Regions from separate parts of the Homo sapiens genome. Here region 2 is linked to region 1. The links are contacts of gene promoters, found by promoter capture Hi-C in blood cells and fetal thymus (Javierre and others, 2016). All regions are on one chromosome and are shown on one strand. Each heading gives the region's core, a stretch centred on a gene start or on the middle of the fragment in contact. The rest is flanking DNA. Distances are from core to core; before and after follow the strand shown.

What was found. Contacts are between HindIII fragments. The CHiCAGO score rates a contact against its expected background, and 5 or more counts as called.
Region 2: a contact is called between a fragment that was not itself captured here and the fragment with the promoter of KRAS in region 1, in 1 of 17 cell types (neutrophils). The highest score is 6.6, in neutrophils.

Annotation. Positions count from the first base shown.
Region 1 is chr12:25,249,176-25,252,691 of GRCh38, reverse strand. It overlaps KRAS (KRAS proto-oncogene, GTPase), which reads left to right and starts at 1,763. Exons shown (of 5, transcript NM_004985.5): 1 at 1,763-1,941. RefSeq lists silencers at 1,203-2,052, 2,113-2,162. The HindIII fragment of the contact is 14,779 bases long and covers 1-3,516 here.
Region 2 is chr12:25,010,280-25,013,795 of GRCh38, reverse strand. It overlaps a transcript of IRAG2 not described here. Among named protein-coding and RNA genes, the nearest start is that of LINC02909, 15 kb to the right of the region's middle. The HindIII fragment of the contact is 5,001 bases long and covers 1-3,516 here.

The sequences.
Region 1 (3,516 bases), core at 514-3,013:
CAAAGATTTAAATGAGGTGCCAGAGGGGTAGCAAGTGCATATTCCCTGAGGAAGACGCCTGCCTGGCATTTTCAAGGAACAGCCAGTAACCAATGTTTATCTACGTAAGTAAGGAAGGGAGAACAGTAGGATGAGAGTTCAGAGAAGAGGGTAGGGGATATCAAATAATTTAAGGCCATGTAGGATTTTTGAGAAGAATTTTGCTTTTATGTCAAGTGGAATGAGGGCCACTGATGATCTGGGAGTAGAGTGACTATGATCCGACATGAAGTATACTCCATTTTTTAACTATGTGAACTTGTGCCAACGTTTTAACCTCTAAATCTGTTTCGTCATTTGTAAAACGGTAAAAAGTATTTTACCTCATAAGGTTGTCGTGATGATTAAATAAGATGATACGATAAGTGCAAAAGATTTAGCTTGTACTTAACATAGAGTAGGCACATTTTCTCCCCTTCCCTGTCTTTCACTTTTCTCTTCTGCCCCTTCCACCTGGCGCTAGGAGGGGGAGACTGGAATAAACCTTGCAGATTACAGCCCGTGTAAGAGTAGAAAGGAAAGGATGACAGTTGATGTAAAGCCTTGGTTAACAGACATAATAGCTGGGATTTAAATTCAGCTTTATTGGTGGTTTATGATGTGGACTAGAGGAATGGAACTGAAAGTCTCGGAGGAGGGGCGATCCTATCAGGTACAGGCGCTGCTTTTCCAGCCCTCAATCCTCAAGACTCTCCCAAGATACATTTCTAGGTAGTTTATCAACACAGACTCCGGGTATGCTAGCATGTTTAATTGCCCCATTGTTTAATGTCTTAACTCCACGAACTTTAACTGATTAATCTGTCTTCTAATTAATGTTTGAATGACTCTCCTCAGGTCTAAACTACCAAGGCCATCTCTACTTAAAAACAGTTGTCTTTTGTTTGTGATTTCAGGGGCCCTGGGTATAAGCGAAGTCCCTGTTTAGAGACCTTGTGATGGGTTCAAAATATCAAGAAAGATAGCAAAATATCACAAGCCTCCTGACCCGAGAAGATTAGCGTTGAAAGGGTCTGTCGTGTTTGTTTGGGCCTGGGGCTAAATTCCCAGCCCAAGTGCTGAGGCTGATAATAATCGGGGCGGCGATCAGACAGCCCCGGTGTGGGAAATCGTCCGCCCGGTCTCCCTAAGTCCCCGAAGTCGCCTCCCACTTTTGGTGACTGCTTGTTTATTTACATGCAGTCAATGATAGTAAATGGATGCGCGCCAGTATAGGCCGACCCTGAGGGTGGCGGGGTGCTCTTCGCAGCTTCTCTGTGGAGACCGGTCAGCGGGGCGGCGTGGCCGCTCGCGGCGTCTCCCTGGTGGCATCCGCACAGCCCGCCGCGGTCCGGTCCCGCTCCGGGTCAGAATTGGCGGCTGCGGGGACAGCCTTGCGGCTAGGCAGGGGGCGGGCCGCCGCGTGGGTCCGGCAGTCCCTCCTCCCGCCAAGGCGCCGCCCAGACCCGCTCTCCAGCCGGCCCGGCTCGCCACCCTAGACCGCCCCAGCCACCCCTTCCTCCGCCGGCCCGGCCCCCGCTCCTCCCCCGCCGGCCCGGCCCGGCCCCCTCCTTCTCCCCGCCGGCGCTCGCTGCCTCCCCCTCTTCCCTCTTCCCACACCGCCCTCAGCCGCTCCCTCTCGTACGCCCGTCTGAAGAAGAATCGAGCGCGGAACGCATCGATAGCTCTGCCCTCTGCGGCCGCCCGGCCCCGAACTCATCGGTGTGCTCGGAGCTCGATTTTCCTAGGCGGCGGCCGCGGCGGCGGAGGCAGCAGCGGCGGCGGCAGTGGCGGCGGCGAAGGTGGCGGCGGCTCGGCCAGTACTCCCGGCCCCCGCCATTTCGGACTGGGAGCGAGCGCGGCGCAGGCACTGAAGGCGGCGGCGGGGCCAGAGGCTCAGCGGCTCCCAGGTGCGGGAGAGAGGTACGGAGCGGACCACCCCTCCTGGGCCCCTGCCCGGGTCCCGACCCTCTTTGCCGGCGCCGGGCGGGGCCGGCGGCGAGTGAATGAATTAGGGGTCCCCGGAGGGGCGGGTGGGGGGCGCGGGCGCGGGGTCGGGGCGGGCTGGGTGAGAGGGGTCTGCAGGGGGGAGGCGCGCGGACGCGGCGGCGCGGGGAGTGAGGAATGGGCGGTGCGGGGCTGAGGAGGGTGAGGCTGGAGGCGGTCGCCGCTGGTGCTGCTTCCTGGACGGGGAACCCCTTCCTTCCTCCTCCCCGAGAGCCGCGGCTGGAGGCTTCTGGGGAGAAACTCGGGCCGGGCCGGCTGCCCCTCGGAGCGGTGGGGTGCGGTGGAGGTTACTCCCGCGGCGCCCCGGCCTCCCCTCCCCCTCTCCCCGCTCCCGCACCTCTTGCCTCCCTTTCCAGCACTCGGCTGCCTCGGTCCAGCCTTCCCTGCTGCATTTGGCATCTCTAGGACGAAGGTATAAACTTCTCCCTCGAGCGCAGGCTGGACGGATAGTGGTCCTTTTCCGTGTGTAGGGGATGTGTGAGTAAGAGGGGAGGTCACGTTTTGGAAGAGCATAGGAAAGTGCTTAGAGACCACTGTTTGAGGTTATTGTGTTTGGAAAAAAATGCATCTGCCTCCGAGTTCCTGAATGCTCCCCTCCCCCATGTATGGGCTGTGACATTGCTGTGGCCACAAAGGAGGAGGTGGAGGTAGAGATGGTGGAAGAACAGGTGGCCAACACCCTACACGTAGAGCCTGTGACCTACAGTGAAAAGGAAAAAGTTAATCCCAGATGGTCTGTTTTGCTTGGTCAAGTTAAACCCGAAGAAAACCCGCAGAGCAGAAGCAAGGCTTTTTCCTTGCTAGTTGAGTGTAGACAGCAATAGCAAAAATAGTACTTGAAGTTTAATTTACCTGTTCTTGTCCTTTCCCCTATTTCTTATGTATTACCCTCATCCCCTCGTCTCTTTTATACTACCCTCATTTTGCAGATGTGTTCTACATCTCAAGAGTTATTACAGTACTCCAAAACAGCACTTACATGATTTTTTAAACTTACAGAGGAATTGTAGCAATCCACCAGCTAACCGCCTGAAATAGACTTAAACATGTGCATCTCCTTTTTTTTTTTTTTTTTGAGACACAGTCTCGCTCTGTTGCCCAGGCTGGAGTGCAATGGCGCGGTATCGGCTCACTGAAACCTCCGCCTCCTGGGTTCAAGCAATTCTCCTGCCTCAGCCTCCCGAGTAGCTGGGACTAGTAGGTGCACGCCACCATGCCCAGCTAATTTTTGTATTTTTAGTAGAGACAGAGTTTCATCATGTTGGTCAGGATGGTCTCCATCTGCTCTGTTGCCCAGGCTGGAGTGCAGTGGCGCCGTCTCGGCTCACTGCAACCTCTGCCTCCTGCATTCAAGCAATTCTCCTGCCTCAGCCTCCCGAATAACTGGGATTACAGGTGTCTGCTGCCATGCCCGGCTAATTTTTTGTATTTTTAGTAGAGACGGGGGTTTCACCATGTTGGTCAGGCTGGTCTAGAACTCCTGACCTCGTG
Region 2 (3,516 bases), core at 561-3,060, 240 kb after region 1:
TCCTATGCATATTTTTATTTCTTCCAAAAATGGGATTATACTACATGAATAGATCTATGACCTATTTATTTGAAGTAATTACATATTAATTTCTCTTATCAAATATTATTACTTTAAATGACTAGTATTTTAGTGTATGGAAGCACTATAATTTGTCCAATTGTCTCTTTTTAAATATCTAGATTGCTTGTATTTATCACTGTCATAAACTACCTTCTACCTTCTATATTAGCATTTACAATTAATTATCTTTCTTATCTTTCTTAAAGTTACATTACTTCTCAAAGAGCCTGCCTTTTGTCTTTTGTTTTTGTTTTGGAGACAGGGCCTTGCTCTCTTGCCCAGGCTGAAGTGTAGTGGCTCTGTCACAGCTTACTGCAGCCTCAAACTCCTGGGCTCAAGCAATCCTCCTGCTTCAGCCTCACAAGTAGCCTGGACTACAGGCGCATGCCACCACTCCTGGCTAATTTTAAAATTTTTTTGTAGAGACAGAATCTTGCTAAGTTGCCCAGACTGGTCTCAAACTCCTGGCCTCAGGTGATGCTCCCGCCTTGGCCTTCCAAAGTGCTGGGATTACAGGCACGAGCCACCACCCCCGGCCAAGACTGCATATTTTTAAGGGCCTGATACACATTCCTAAATTGCTCTTAAAAAAGCTATGCTAACTTGCACTACTACCAATAATATATGGGAGGGCTTATTTCTCCACCCTTTTCACAGTCCACCACATGGGCTAGAGTCATTTTTTAAAAATCTTTGTTAAACTCATGGGTAGAAATGTTATATCTGTATTTGCAGTTTTTGATTACACTAACATTACTTATTTCTATATATTTATCTTGACTTCATGAATAACCTGTGTATGGCATGCAACATTTCAGTCATATTTTCTTAAGTTATCTATACATCCTAATCCTACCAGAAATCTGGTAAGTTTTTCCGTTCCTTGGGCTTGACATTTTCTCTCTTTTTGAGACGGAGTCTCTGTTGCCTAGGCTAGAGTGCTATGGCACGATCTCGGCTCACTTCAACCTCCACCTCCCAGGTTCAAGCAATTCTCCCGCCTCAGCTTCCCACGTGATTGGGATCACAGGCGTGAACCACCACGCCCAGCTAATTTTTGTATTTTTAGTAGAGACAGGGTTTCACCACGTTGGCCTGGCTGGTCTCCAACTGCCAACCTCAGCTGTTCCACCTGCCTCAGCCTCCCAAAATGCTGGGATTACAGGTGTGAGCCATCGCGCCCTGTCAACATTTTCTTTAAGCAAATCCTAGCATGCATCAGCAGATAGCTGAAGATTGGTGGCTGAATAGGAGGCATAGGAATTAGGTTTCTTGGCTAGGTGCAGTGGGTGGCTCACACCTGTAATCCCAGCACTTTGGGAGGCCGAGGTGGGCAGATCAGCTGAGATCAGGAGTTCGAGACCAGCCTGGACAACATGGTGAAACCCCTTCTCTACTAAAAATACAAGCATTAGCCGGGCATGGTGGCACACACCTGTGATTCCAGCTACTCTGGAGGGTGTGGCGGGAGAATTGCTTGAACCCGGGAGGCAGCGGTTGCAGTGAGCAGAGATTGCATCACTGTATTCCAGCCTGGGCAACAGAGTGAAACTCCGTCTCAGAAAAAAAAAAAAAAAAAAAAAAAAAAGGGAATTCGCTTTCTGTGGAAGAAGACACACATCTCCAGCATCTGCCAAGGGCACCTGAGATCATGGGGTGCCCTTCTCCTCCTTTACCTTTTTCTTTTTCCTATTCTACTATTCTTTCTTGTTCCCCTTAGCCTCCCTATATTCTAGGATTCCAAATTACATTCACTGACTAGCCCCACTGCCCTTAAAAGGGAGTCTATTATTGAATTTAAATACATTTGGAGATTTGATAGTATCAATAATTCACCTGACTCGTATGTCAGCTCAATTCTCTGTGAGAGTATCACATGTGCTCCCCACTAATCACAAGAAATGAATGACAGCAGTGGTTCCCAAAGCATGTCCAGCCCACTCCCAGCATCAATATCATCGGAAACTTGTTAGAATGTAAATTATCAGGCTTCACCCCAGATCTGCTGAATCATGATGGTGGGACCCCAGCAATCAGGTTTAACATCATTCAGGTGATTCTAATGCATGCTAAAGCACTGGACAATAGTATTTCCATCAACACAGGAAACAGTGATTAGCATAATTATAATCAGTTGTTAAAATAGAACCTTAAACTGCATCCCACTAGGACTCTGATTACCATGTGTTTCCACAGTAAGCCATCCAGTCTTTCATCATGGCCTGGAAAGTTTCCAGGTCCACATGTGGGTCTCTCTTCTCAGGATCAAGCATGTTCCACAACTGCTCAAGGCCACTGTCTTCAGAATTTTGGCTAGTTGTTTGTCTCAGGAAATTGATTATTTTGGCCACTCCGACTGAGCCTTTGGAAAAAGAAGAGCAGATCAGTTCTGAAAGACAGAAAAGTTATATTTTTCACAAGTGAAGCACCTATCTCTTTAATGTTTCCTGATCCTAGAAACATGATATATAACCCTGGCAGTCCTGCGGAGCTGGCATGGTATATTGTAAAGAACACTGGCCTTGGGCTAAAGTCTAATGGACCTAGTGTCAAATCTTGGCTCTGAAGATTACCAGCTGTGTAGCTTTGGGAATATTAACCTCTCTGAACCTGTTTCTTTATCTGAGATGGGGACGATGATACCTATCACACAGAGTTGCGAGGTTTAAATATTGATGATATATGTAATCAATAATTTCTCATGGGAGGTGACCAAAATGACATTACATTTTTTCCTTTCAGTTCCTTGAAAAGCCTTCAATGAAGGAAGTTTTTTTCTCTACTTTAGTTAAAATTTCAATCTCAAGTGAAAATTTCTACTTTTTAGGGGGTGGAGGAGGCATTTTTAGACAGTCATCCCTACTATCACATTCAGAAAAGAAAATCATCCAAACTATGTTAGTCATTGACACACCAATCTTTTTTAAACATAAGACTTTTCTTTTACTCCCATCAAAGGCCTGCCTTGGGCTGGCTACTTGCAAAGGAGAGGGAAAAATTAAGTAGAAGTTTGAGAGGGCAGATGCCACAGAGAAGGTTCTTCCCTTAAGGAAATAAGGATAGACCATGACATCAGAAAAAAAAAAGTCTCTTAATTAGAAGGAGGAGATACTCATAAAGGAGGCTGAATAACTTCAAAGTTTTTAATAACTTTAACATTATTTAAACTTAACATGTCATTTAGATGTGACACTATTAGAAAGAGAAATAAAATGACTAATACAGTTATTTAGAGAGAGAACTGTTTTTTTTTTTTGTTTGTTTTTTGACACAGGGTCTTGCTATGTTGCTCAGCTGGAATGCTCCTGGTTCACTGCAACCTCAATCTCTTGGGCTTAAGCAATCCTCCCACCTCAGCCTCCCTAGTAGCTGGGACTACAGGCATGTGCCACCACACCCAGCTAATTTTTGTATTTTTTGTACAGATGGGATTCCACCATGTTGCCCAGGCTG